2 separate regions of the Homo sapiens genome follow, and region 2 is linked to region 1. The links are contacts of gene promoters, found by promoter capture Hi-C in blood cells and fetal thymus (Javierre and others, 2016). All regions are on one chromosome and are shown on one strand. Each heading gives the region's core, a stretch centred on a gene start or on the middle of the fragment in contact. The rest is flanking DNA. Distances are from core to core; before and after follow the strand shown. Region 1 holds the start of SMURF2 (SMAD specific E3 ubiquitin protein ligase 2). Region 2 has its middle 42 kb from the start of TEX2.

Evidence for each region. Contacts are between HindIII fragments. The CHiCAGO score rates a contact against its expected background, and 5 or more counts as called.
Region 2: a contact is called between a fragment that was not itself captured here and the fragment with the promoter of SMURF2 in region 1, in 1 of 17 cell types (total CD4 T cells). The highest score is 5.4, in total CD4 T cells.

What each region holds. Positions count from the first base shown.
Region 1 is chr17:64,658,522-64,664,761 of GRCh38, forward strand. SMURF2 (SMAD specific E3 ubiquitin protein ligase 2) reads right to left here and starts at 3,786. Exons shown (of 19, transcript NM_022739.4): 1 at 3,308-3,786. The coding sequence starts at 3,359. RefSeq lists silencers at 3,280-3,479, 3,530-3,929 and an enhancer at 4,080-4,638. The HindIII fragment of the contact is 18,568 bases long and covers 1-6,240 here.
Region 2 is chr17:64,302,454-64,309,026 of GRCh38, forward strand. It overlaps the pseudogene RPL31P57. Among named protein-coding and RNA genes, the nearest start is that of TEX2, 42 kb to the left of the region's middle. The HindIII fragment of the contact is 4,234 bases long and covers 2,815-6,573 here.

The DNA of each region.
Region 1 (6,240 bases), core at 2,536-5,035:
GACAAGGTTAACCTCCTTATTGCCAAGGGCTTTGAAATTAATAACATGAGAAGCAGCATACAAAAACATTAAATGTATAAAAAGGTCTGAAACAAATGTTCTGGAGGAGTAATCTTATTCTGCTTCTCCATACCTAAGAATTTAAAATATTAGAAATTACACTAAACTGCTTTTTCCAGCCTTTGGTTTTCAGAAACAATAATGGTATAAAAAATTATCCCAAAGTTTTTACTGTAAAGAATATTTTTCTATCCAAACCATTGAAAGAAAAGCCTGTATCAGATATAAGTATAATGATATAGACATTATACATTTTGTAATCAATGTTATAGAAACAGTAGTTGAAGTTGATAGTGTTACCATACAGCCCATTTCAATGATCATATGTTAATGTGTCATAAAGAACAGAAGTAGCTTGATGGATGAAATCAGATTCTAACCCCCAACTGCCTGAGGAATCTAAAATTTGGGATCAAATTATTAAATTAGCCCCACCTTCTTAGCATTGACAAATACCAAACAGTTCACTGATTGTGGTTTTAAGAATAATATGTGGAAAGGTTTAATATCAATTGTGGGCAGAGATCTCATGGCTTAAATATTTCCTCTTCTTCAGAGAGAGTGTGTATGAGTGTGTGAGTGTGTGTGTGTGAGTGTGTGCATCACCATGTAAGAAATGTTTATACCTTTCAGCAAAGGGGCAATTCCACAATAAAGTTATTATCAAGTAACTAAAGTTTATACAGCATCTTGAAATCAAAGGTACTCTATAAATTTAAAATACTAATATGGTATTAACTTAAAGCAAAGAACAATAATTTTAAAACACCTTATAGCCCAAGTGTATTGTAAACCAAATATAAATTCACTGTGGGATCTGTCTTTTTTTAAGTGATTTTTTTTCCTCTATTAGGCAACCCAGATCTAAATGAACTGTTAAACACTTAGTCTAAAGGTATGCCAAACATTTCTTAAGGTCTTCACAAAGAATCAACTTTTTTTTTTTTTTTTTTTTTAAACAAAATGAGGCCTAGGTTAAATATTTTATTTGGCTTCTCAAGATGGACTGAGAAGTTGGGCACCAGCTCCAGACCAATTCCTGGACGCACATCAAACACAGCCCTGTCATTTATCCAGTCAGTCAAAACAATCTTTTCCATCTAACCCTTTAATGTTTATGTCCTAAAAAGCTGCTAATTGAATCCAGCTCTTGAGATCTATTTGCTAAAATCTATACCATCTAATTTATAAATGATGAACAAAAATGGAAGAAAAAATATGTTAACTTTCCTGGCAAAACAGAAGAGACTCCACTGTAACCAAAGAAGGAAGGACAATGTTTTTAATATTTGTCAAATTTTAAGAGAAAACTATTCAGAGACAAATAGTTGTAAGAAACTCAGAGTACCTCAAACTGTTTTTACTATTAAGAGGACACAGGGTATTTAAAATTCCTCAGAAAAACCTGAAACAAAATCACTATAAATGTAGTTCAATATTCCCCCTTCCCCTAAAATATAAGCATAATCTTTCCTCTTAATAAACTTTAATTATAAATTCTTATAATGTATCATAGGCAGTACGGAAACCACAGATAAACACTTTAAGATCTATTAAGTCATACTAAAAACCTCAACTAACCTTATCTGCAGAAAATCAAAAACCCAATTTTTTCCCTCATTTTCTCTACATAGCCCAGAGGAGGGTAAATGGAAACAGCCTATTTCTGATGCTTTCTGCACACCTGGGATCACATGTTCTTTCCACGATCACTGACTACAGACAGCAACAGCAACAGATAAACTCTAAAGCAACAAAGATCCCCTATAAAGGTTTCCACTGACTCCTCCCAATGTAAGGACACTGAATGAGGGGGGAGGGGGTGGAATACAAGTATCCTCCAATCCAGGTTTTCCATTAAGAATCACTCAGTTAATGATTCCCTGCAATTTTCCCTAGGGAAAGGAAAACTGCCATGAAAGTAATATATTATTTAAATTGCAGCCAACATACATTCAAGCTAAATTCTCAAATACCAAATTCACTGCAAGTTTTCATCCAGCAAGTTCAGCCAGTGGACTGGGATGTGACACACAGGCATTTAACTACAAAATTAGTCCAAATAAATCTCAAAGTCTAGTGTGGGCAAACATAATTACAGTTTATCCGTACACGTGCACGCACACACAAATCCTCTACGGAAAATTATCTTTCTCACCACTCACCCGAATACAAACGTGGACAATTTATCAGGGGTAAATGGTGAAGGTAGGATAACGCCGTGATTCCAATTCCTTTACAAACCAAATAAAAGTTCTCCTAAAACGGGGGTGGCATGTCCATGTAAGAATACCAAAAATGGCACTGTAAGCAAAACGTACCTGTAATGTTAAAGATTTCATGCACCTGGAATCATAAACACTTTGTAAGTGTAGTCTTCTATCTGGCAACCCCTCCGGACATTCTTTTCCATTTCGAAAAAGGAATGGGGAGGGTGGGGAGAGTAACAGAAAGTTTGCTCGAAAGTTTGTATGAGCACATACTTAGCAATGCACCCCCCCCAAAAAAGTGTGTTTTTAAAGCAGGTCTGGCGTTAGAAGTTAGACACAAGTTCTGCGGCCTAAAAGGAACAACCCCAAACATGCCACCCTACAATCAGACACTTCCAAAACACAGTGTACAATGAGCCCAAGCCGTCGGATCAGACAGGCACACCGGAAAAGTCAACCTGTCTCCTCACCTCAGAGACATGAGTTTAAGGTGTGTGGCCCGGGCAGCGGTGGCCGGCGGCGGGGAGTAAAGGTTTTTCATGCGGGCATAACTGGGTGTGTGCAAGGTAACAACCCGGGAACACACACGCACACCCTCCCGTTAAGCGCTCCATCTTTAAGGAGTGTTTACTGCGCGCAGTCAGCAACCGGATTCAATAATCCTCGCCACGGGAGCTCTTCATCCCCTTCACGATCTCACCTGGGCGGTAGCCCAGGGGCTGTTCCCCGAGCCCCGGGAGGCAGCGTCTGGCTCCTTGACCAAGACTTTCCGACCTGAAATCCGCCTGCGATGCGAACCGGTGTATTCTCCCCTCCACAAAACACCACCCCCCGCCCCGAGTCATCCTCGGCTTTTTAAACAATGTCCAAACCAGAGCAAGTGGTTTTCCAATTACTCTCCCTGAACTAGGCCTTCCCATTCCTCCGACCCCCAACTCATCATTGATCGCGACCCTGGCCCTTCCCAAGGCCACAGGCACCCCCCGCCAGCTCGCCCACCCCGCGGCTGCCCAGCCCGGCCCGCCGCCCCCCCTCACCTGTCAGGCGCAGCTTGACGGGCCCGTTCCTCCGGCCTCCGGGGTTAGACATGTCCCCGGCGGCGGGGGCGGCGGGGGCGGCGGGCGGCACGGGGGCGACGGCGAGGCGCGGCGGAGTCACCACAGCGGCCGGGGCTGGGGCCCGAGCAGCCGGCGCCTCGGCCGCCACGGCCGGAGGGTCCCGGATGTGCCGAGAGTCGTCGCCATGAGCCGCGGAGGGAGCGGGACGCCGAGCTCCCCCCTCCTCCCACTTCTCCTTCCTCGGCCCGGGCCGCACAACAAAGCGGCAGCCGCGGCCGCCCGCGCCGCCTCCGCCCGCGCCCCCGCCGCCTCCTCGCGGCCGCCGAGGCCTTTCCCTCCTCTCGTCTCGGCGAGGCCCAGTAGCCGACGGGGCTGGTCGGCTGAAGCGGGCGGTGCTCGGGGGCGCCGGAGCAGAACTCTGGGCTCGGCCGCTTCCTCCTCCACCCGCCCTCTTGTCTGAGGGACCCGGGACCTGGGGCCGCCGCCGCCACTCGTCGGCTCCGGGGGGCGGGGAGGAGACGGGAGGCGGGGCCGGCGGGGCGGGGCGGGGCCGGGGCGGGGCCGGCGGGCGCGCGCAGGGTGCCCTGGCGGGCACCGGCAGTCAGGGAGGGTGTGAGCTGCCGCCGAGGGTCCCACGCGGAACGCTGGGAGGGAGCAGGCAGGGAGCAAAGCGGCGGCGGGCGCGGCAGCTCTGTGGCACCTGGAGGGGTTTACTGTCCGGGCCACTTAAGGGAGAACTTTTGTCCAAGCAGGGCCAACTGCATTTTATTAGACGCCCACTGCGTGCAGGGCGCTCCGAGAGGCTGGGGCGAGGAAGGTTAGAACCGAGTCCGCTGCCTGCCGGGAACTTGGCGTCTTTCGGGCGAGGGAAGAGAAAGCATTCCCACGCCGATGGTTCCAGCAAAACCCCAGGAATGCTCTGCTCCTGGTCTTGTAGTTGACACCTCCATCCGGGACTCACCTGGTGGAGGAGATCAGGTTACCTGCCGACTCCCGCTCTTTTCAGGTGCAGCCAAGGATGGGGAGATGATACGTCTTAAAGGATTAACAAGATAAACCTTGGAGAGTAATGTATGAAGAGTTGTTCATACGCTACTGTATTTCGTTATCTCAGGAGGAGAAAGAGAAAAGTTTTTAAAAAATGTGTACCTTATCCTTTGACATTGTAACTGTACTGCTAGAAATTTATTTTTTATTTTTTTGTTTTTAGACAGGGTCTCCCTCTGTCGCCCAGGCTGGAGTGCAGTGGTGCGAACACGGCTCACTGCAGTCTCAACTTCCGGGGCTCAGGTGATCCTCCCACCTGAGCCTCTGGAGTAGCTGAGACCACAGTGTGCACCACTACGCCCCACTAATTTTTGTATTTTTAGTAGAGACATGTTTAGTAGAGACGTTTAGGTTTTCCCATGTTGCCCAGGCTGGTCACGAACTCCTGACCTCAAGCGATCAGCCCGCCTCGGCCTCCCAAAGTGCTGGGATTACAGACCTGAGCCACCGCACCGGCCCTATTCTTGACAAATAATCGTACAGAAGATGTTCTTTGCTATATTCCATTAATAACAAAAGGGGAATGAGGGAATAGCATAATAGTCCAGGAACCGCATGGTTTTTTATGCAGCCATGTAACTATTTTTATGAAGATCATATAATATGGAAGAATGTATATGTAATGCAAAGTTTAAAAACAGAATAGAAGTTGTATGCATATACATGCGAAAGTATCTAGCACAATGTAAACTACTAAGGACAATAGCGTGGGGGATTTTTTATGTGATTCGTTAGTTTTGCTTTAGGCTATTATAACATTAATGCAATTTTAAATGTTTTGGATTAATATATTTTAATCCTTATTCCATGCCAGTCATTTCTTTTAATACATCAGTGAACTCACTTCTCCAGATAGTTACCTGCGAGAACATTTCATCAGTTTGGATACAGCCCTACAATTAAAAGTAATCCAAAAAAGTATATGAAGTTCTAGACATCACACTAAAAATACCACAGATAGGCCGGGCACAGTGGCTCACGCCTGTAATTCCAACACTTTGGGAGGCCGAGGTGGGCGGATCATTTGAGGTCAGGAGTTTGAGACCAGCCTGGCCAACATGGTGAAACCCCGTCTGTACTAAAAAAAAATACAAAAAAATTAGCCGGGCCTGGTGGCGCATGCCTGTGGTCCCAGCAATTAGGGAGGCTGAGGCAAGAGAATCGCTTGAACACGGGAGGTTGCAGTGAGCCGAGATCACGCCACTGCACTTCAGCCTGGGTGACAGAGCGAGACTCCATATCAAAAATAAATACATAAATAAATAAAAATTAAAATACCAGAGATAGTGCCAGCAATTCATTCAACAAATATTAAGTGGCCATTTTGTGCAAAGCAATGAACAAGGTCCTTTAGAAATGCTTCCTTGTACTACAAATATATAGAAATCAATGTGAACAATAGCTGCTACCACAATTTAAGAGGGCAGACAGTGGCAAAAAACTTAGCAAACTAATGTACACATACACATTTGCCTTATTTTTACAGCACGCTTTGTTCCCAACCACCCAACTAACATAATTTGTAGCCTTGTATTAGGTAATAGAAGTTAGGATTTCAGAACGTCATGGGAGACCTGGGGGAGACTGCTTGTTTTGAAGTTGAAAGCAGTAAATTAAAAAATGTAAGTGACAGCATAGAAAAATGTATATAGGGTTAACGTGCAGAGGTTTGTATTTAGGCTTTCTTGTAAGGTTAAATCCTGTTGTTTAAAACAAATATTCAGATAAGAATAACACTAAAACCATTCAAGGGCTGGGCATGGTGACTCATGCCTGTAATCCTAGCACTTTGGGAGGCCGAGGCAGAGGAGTCACTTGAGCCCAGGAGTTTGAAACCAGCCTGGGCAACATGGCAAAACCCCGTA
Region 2 (6,573 bases), core at 3,682-6,181, 350 kb before region 1:
AGTGATTCTTGGCCCTGGCTAAACATTAGAATCACCTGGGCAGCTTTAAAAACCTCCCAGTGTCCAAATTCACCCCAGACCAATTAAATGAGAATGTTTGAGGATGGGACCCAGGCATCAGCTTTTTAAAGATCTCCAGGTGATTCTAATATGCAGCTAACATTTGTAAACCTCTGCTCTAAGTTGTTGGATAGCAGGGGAAGTGGGCTAGTTGTAAAACCTCTGTCAACCAGCTGTGTGATCATGGGCAAGTTGCTTGACCTCTCTGAACTTTATTTTCCCTGCTCTAAAATGGGATCATACCTTCTTCACATGATAGAATGAGGCTTATTGAGAACATTATCAGAAAGAGCTCAGTCAATTGTAAAGCATGATATAAATATAAGATAATATTTTATTCTCTGACTTGGTTATCAGCTCAGAAGTAATAGGTGGAGCTGGGGGTCAGGCAGAGCAATGTTGAGTTAATGGTTAACAGAGAGAAAATAAAAGAAGCTGATTGGCTGGAATAGGAATGGCAGAGAGAAGATCAAAGGGCCCCCTAAACCATTTGCACTAAGGCAGGATCTACCCCTGTAGGATTCCAGGGTGATGCTAATGCCTGAGATTACATCTTCATCTTATTCCTAAAGCTCTGTTATTTTCTGTCTTTTTTTTTTGAGACAGAGTCTTGCTCTGTCACCCAGGCTGGAGTGCAGTGGTGCAATCTTAGCTTGTTGCAATCTCCACCTCCTGGGTTCAAGCTATTCTTGTGCCTCAGCCTTCTGAGTTGCTGGAATTACAGGCGTGCACCACCATACTCAACTAATTTTTGTAATTTTAGTAGAGACAGGGTTTCACCATGTTGGCCAGGCTGGTCTTGAACTCCTGGCCTCAAGCGATCCACCTGCCTCGGCCTCCCAAAGTGCTGAGCCACTAAGCCGGGCCAAGCTCTGTTATTTTCTCACTGGGTACTGCCAGTTATGAAGAGCCAGAGATGGCAACTGTCTGGGTGAGAGGTCTGACCAGATGGGAAGGAGCTGAAGAGATTCTTCAGGCTCTGCTGGGAAGCTTTCAGCCAGACAGGGTCCCTTCCCTGGAGTCACCCTCACCAGCAACTTAAAGAATGGGAAATTCTCCTGGGCTTGAACACATGGGCCCGTCAGGCCAGGCTGCTGGCCCTGGAGACTTTGTGAGGGGCTAAGCCTGCCCTGGTGAGGAGGCCAAGGGGGCTGTGAGCCTGGGCTTTCCCTGCCCTTCCTTAACAAAGACCATCGCCCTCCCACCCTCTGAGTAAGGAGGTCAACACACAATTGTGCAGCAGCAAGCAGAGTGGAAATGCTTCTGTGGGACTCAGTCTACCTCCAGCTGAGTGCCCTCAACTCTTCTACTCAGACTTTCCCTTTCAACCCACCAACCCTTCATCCTTCCATAGTGTGCTCAGTAATGGATGTTGAGTGGCTGAGAAAGTCCTAACTTGCAATGAGCTCCATTCACTGATAGATCTTGACATTTCATGATGACAGTTTTTTTTTTTTTTGAGACAGGGTCTCACTCTGTTACCCAGGTTGGAGTGCAGTGACACGATCTTGGCTCACTGCAAACTCCATCTCCCAGGCTCAAGTGATCCTCCCATCTCAGCCTCCCAAGTAGCTGGGACCACAGGCACCTACCACCATGCCCAGCTAATTTTTGTATTTTTCGTAGAGACAAAATTTTGCCATGTTGCCCAGGCTGGTCTCAAACTCCTGAGCTCAAGCAATCCACCCACCTCGGCCTCCCAAAGTGCTGGGATTACAGGTGTAAGCCACCTTTTTTTTTTTTTTCTTAAAAAAAAAATCTTTTGCTGGGCACGGTGGCTCACGCCTGTAATCCCAGCACTTTGGGAGGCTGAGGCGGGTGAATCACCTGAAGTCGGGAGTTCGAGACCAGCCTGGTCAACATGGTGAAACCTCGTCTCTACTAAAAATACAAAAATTAGCCAGGCTTGGTGGCTCAAGCCTGTAATCCTAGCTACTCGGGAGGCTGAGGCAGGGGAACCATTTGAACCCAGGAGGCGGAGGTTGCAGTGAGCCGAAATCGTGCCACTGCACTCCAGCCTGTGTGACAGTGCGAGACTCCTTCTCAAAAAAAAAAAAAAAGAAAAAAAATTACCTTTTATTTGAGACAGGGTCTTGAACTCCTGGGCTCAGTGATTGTCCTGCCTCAGCCTCCCAAGCATCTGGGATTATAGGCAAATGCCAGCACACCCGGCCCTTTCTGTTTTTAAACAGGTGTCTGATTTCCCACCTCCATTCCTTCCACAGCCCAGAGAGGTAGGACATCAACTCTTCAGTTTTCTATCTACTCACAGGTTTGATCTTTAACCTCTCAAGAACAATAAGCCAGAGAAACAGAGATAAGCGTTGAGTTGGGATTCAAGTTTACTTCAGCTGTTTCTGCCTGATCCACACATCCTAGGGCTCCTTCTTAAGTAGTTCCTTGCAACTTAAAGTGTATCCAAAAGTGATACTCCCTTCTTTTTTTTTGAGACTGAGTCTTGCTCTGTCGCCCAGGCTGGAGTGCAGTGGTGTGATCTCGGCTCACTGCAACCTCCGCCTCCTGGGTTCAAGCGATTCTCATGCCTCAGCCTCTTGAGTAGCTGGGATTACAGGTGCCCACCACCATACTCTGCTAATTTTTGTATTTTTAGTAGAGATGGGGTTTCACCATGTTGGCCAGGCTGGTCTCCAACTCCTGACCTTAGGTAATCCGCCTGCCTCAGCCTCCCAAAGTGTTGGGATCACAGGTGTGAGCCACTGTGCCCGCCTCCTTTTTTTAATTTTGAAAATTTCAAGCTTTCAGAAAAGTTACAAGAAATAGTACAATGAACACTTGTATATCCTTCACCTAGATTCATTTGTTGCTAGCATTTTGCCCATTTGCTTTATCTCTCCTCCTCTGTGTTTGTACACACACACATACACACACACACGCAAACATTTTTTAAAAATTATTTTAATTTTTGGCTGGGTGTGGTGGCTCATGGCTATAATTCCAACACTTTGGGAGCCCAAGGTAGGCAGATCACTTGAGGCCAGGAGTTCGAGACCAGCCTGGGCAGCCTGGGCGAAACCCTGTCTCTATAAAAAATACAAAAAGTAGCCAGGCATGGTGGTATGTGCCTGTGGACCCGCTACTCAGGAGGCTGAGGTGGGAGTATCACTTGAGCCAGGGAGGTTGAAATTGCAGTGAGCCAAGATCTCACCACTGTGCTCCAGCCTGGGCAACAGAGTGAGATCCTGTCTCAAAAAAATTATTCTGGCCAGCCACGATGGCTCACGCCTATAATCCCAGCACTTTGGGAGGCCGAGGCAGGTGGATCACTTGAGGTCAGGAGTTCAAGACCAGCCTGACCAACACGGTGAAACCCCGTCTCTACTAAAAATACAAATTTAGCCAGGCATGGTGGTGCGCGCCTGTAATCCCAGCTACTCGGGAGGCTGAGGCAGGAGAATTGCTTGAACCCAGGAGGCGGACGTTGCAGTGAGCCGAGAACACACCACTGCACTCCAGCCTGGGCAACAGAGTGAGACTTCCTCTCAAAAAAAAAAATTATTTCAATGTTTGCTAAATATTTTGAAAGTTAGTTGCAGGCATCATATTTCTAATATTACTTCACCATGTATCCCCTAAGAATGAGGACATTCTATATAATTACAGTATATTACCATGCTTGAGAAATTTAACATTAGGCTAAGCACAGTGGCTCATGCCTGTAATCCCAGCACTATGGGAGGCTGAGGCAGGTGGATCACTTGAACCCAGGAGTTTGAGACCAGCCTGGGCAATATGGCGAAATTTTGTCTGTACAAAACTTACAAAAAATTAGCCAGACATGGTGACGCACACCTGTGGTCCCAGCTACTCGGAGGCTGAGGTGGAAAGATTGCTTGAGCCCAGGAGGTTGAGGCTGCGGTGAGCCACCATCATGCCACTGCACTCCAGCCTGGATGACAGAGCAAGACACTGTTTCAAAAAAAAAGAAAGAAAGAAATTTAACATTAATACTATATTGTGATATATATTCCATATTCAATTTTCCCAATTGGCCCAATTATGTACTTGACTAGCTTTTTTTTTTTTTTTTTTTTTGAGATGGAGTCTCGCTCTGTTGCCCAGGCTAGAGTGCAGTGGCACGATCTTGGCTCACTGCAATCTCTGCCTCCTGGGTTCAAGCAATTCTCCTGCCTTAGTCTCCCGAGTAGCTGGGATTACAGGCGCCTGTCACCATGCCTGGCTAATTTTTGTATTTTTAATAGAGACAGGGTTTCACCATGTTGGTCAGACTGGTCTCAAACTCCTGACCTCAGGTGATCCACCCACCTTGGCCTCCCAAAGTGCTGGGATTACAGACATGAGCCACCGTGCCTGCCCTTGAATAGCTTTTTGAACAGATTGCATTTAGCGGTTCAGACCCTTTGGTCTCTTTTAATCTAGAGCAGTTTTTCAGACCATTTTGATCTTTTCTGACATGGATATTTTTGAAAAGTCCAAGCCAATTGTGTTAAAACTATAATTACTTTATGCTATTTGAATTCTACACGTGATCTTGGTCCTAGAGTGTAAATTTTATCTGTGCTGCCACCAGGTGGCGCACTTGGTAGGTCCTGGTCCTCAAAAACCCTTGTGAAAGGGCAACTTAAGGCAAGAAAACTCGTTTTGTCTCAATCAACTAAGGCTGTTATTTGGTAAAGCATATGATGTTGGCAGTGCCCATATATTTATAAAGGCACGTGGTGTCTTTTCCATAATCTGGGGATCTTGCTAATTAGGATTATAGTTTCGTAGACCTGTAATGGGTCCCAAGATTCTTTCTTTTTTTTTTTTTTTGAGACAGGGTCTCACTCTGCCAGCCAGGCTGGAGTGCTGTGGCGTGATCACGGCTGACTGCAGCCTCAAACTCCTGCGCTCAAGCGATCCTCCCACCTCAGCCTCCCAAAGTGCTGGTATTACAGGCATGAGCCGTTGTCCTGGCCAAGGTTCTGCATTTCTAACAATGGCCAAGTGATTGTGATGCTGCTGATTTGAAGAGCACGCTTTGAGTAGCAGGGGTTTAGAACAAGCCTATGAAGAACTATAATCTATTTACAATTAGTGGCTTCTGTTCTTGAGACAAAATCTCACTCTGTTGCCCAGGCTGGAGTGCAGTGGAGCCATCACGGCTCACTGCAGCCTTGACCCCTGAGGCTCAGGTGATCCCCCTGCTTCAGCCTCCTGAGTAGCTGGGATCACAAGCATGCACCACTCCACCTGGCTAATTTAAAACATTTTTTTGGAGACAGGATCTCTGTATGTTCCCCAGGCTGGTCTCGAACTCCTGGGCTCAAGGGATCCTCCCATCTTGCCCTCCCAAAGCGCCTTGACCTCCCAAAGTGCTGGGATTACAGGCATGAGCCATCATGCCTGGCCACTATTATATATATATATATATATATATATATATATATATATATATATATATATATATATATTTAAACAATTTTGGCCCCCACAGTGGCTCATGCCTCTAATCCCAGCGCTTTAGGAGGTCAAGGCGGACAGATCACTTGAGGTCAGGAGTTTGAGGCCAGCCTGGCCAACGTGCTGAAACCCCATCTGTACTAAAGATACCAAAATTAGCTGGGCATGGTGGTGCATGCCTGCAGTCCCAGCTACAAGGGAGGCTGAGGTAGGAGAATTGCTTGAACCCGGGAGGTGGGGGTTGCAGTGAGCCAAAATCACGCCACTGTGGTCCAGCCTGGGTGACAGAGCAAGATTCTATCCCACCCCCCCAAAAAACAAACAAACAAACAAACAAAAAACAATTTTATAACTTTATTTGGTATATTTGATGATTAGCAGTTAGTTCACATTCACACCGACTGTAGATTTTTTTAAAGTGGTAACAGGTACGTAGGCAACCGAAGTATAGAGCTTGTTTGGTAAATCTTTATCTTCATTACATTTTCTGGACAACCGAACATGGATACAGTATGAGACGTTGCTTATTCCTTTGGCCCAGACAGCTTTGTTGAGCCTGGTATCAAAGTGTGCATCTGGAGTTCCCATCTCCTTCAGGGCAAGTTTCCGGAGCTCTTTGAGTGCCTGAGGGGAACGCTTCTTGAAGCCCACTCCATGAATGCACTTATGAATGTTGATGGGGTATTCTCGGGTCACCATCTCGTTGATGGCGGAATGACCCTTCTTCTTCTCATCACCCTTCTTTGCAGGAGCCATTCTGCCGGGCCCAAGTTGGAAAGGAAATTGGCCACTATTCTTACATCATAATCAGTAGTAAAGCTAGTCTCATCTTCCACTACTTCCCCTCTTCCTCCCTCTACTCCAGCCCCTTGGCCTTGCTTCTTTCCCAGAGGGCCTCGACCCTAGCTTTCCCTTCTGCCTCGCATGCCATTCCCCCAGATATCCTTCTGCTTGACTAATTTCCTTGTCTCCTGCAAGTTCTTAGCTCAAACCTTTCTTTTTTGTTTGTGTTTTGTTTTTGAAACAGGGTCTTGCTCTGTCACCCAGGCTGGCATACAATGGCGTGATCATGGCTCACTATAGCCTCAACCT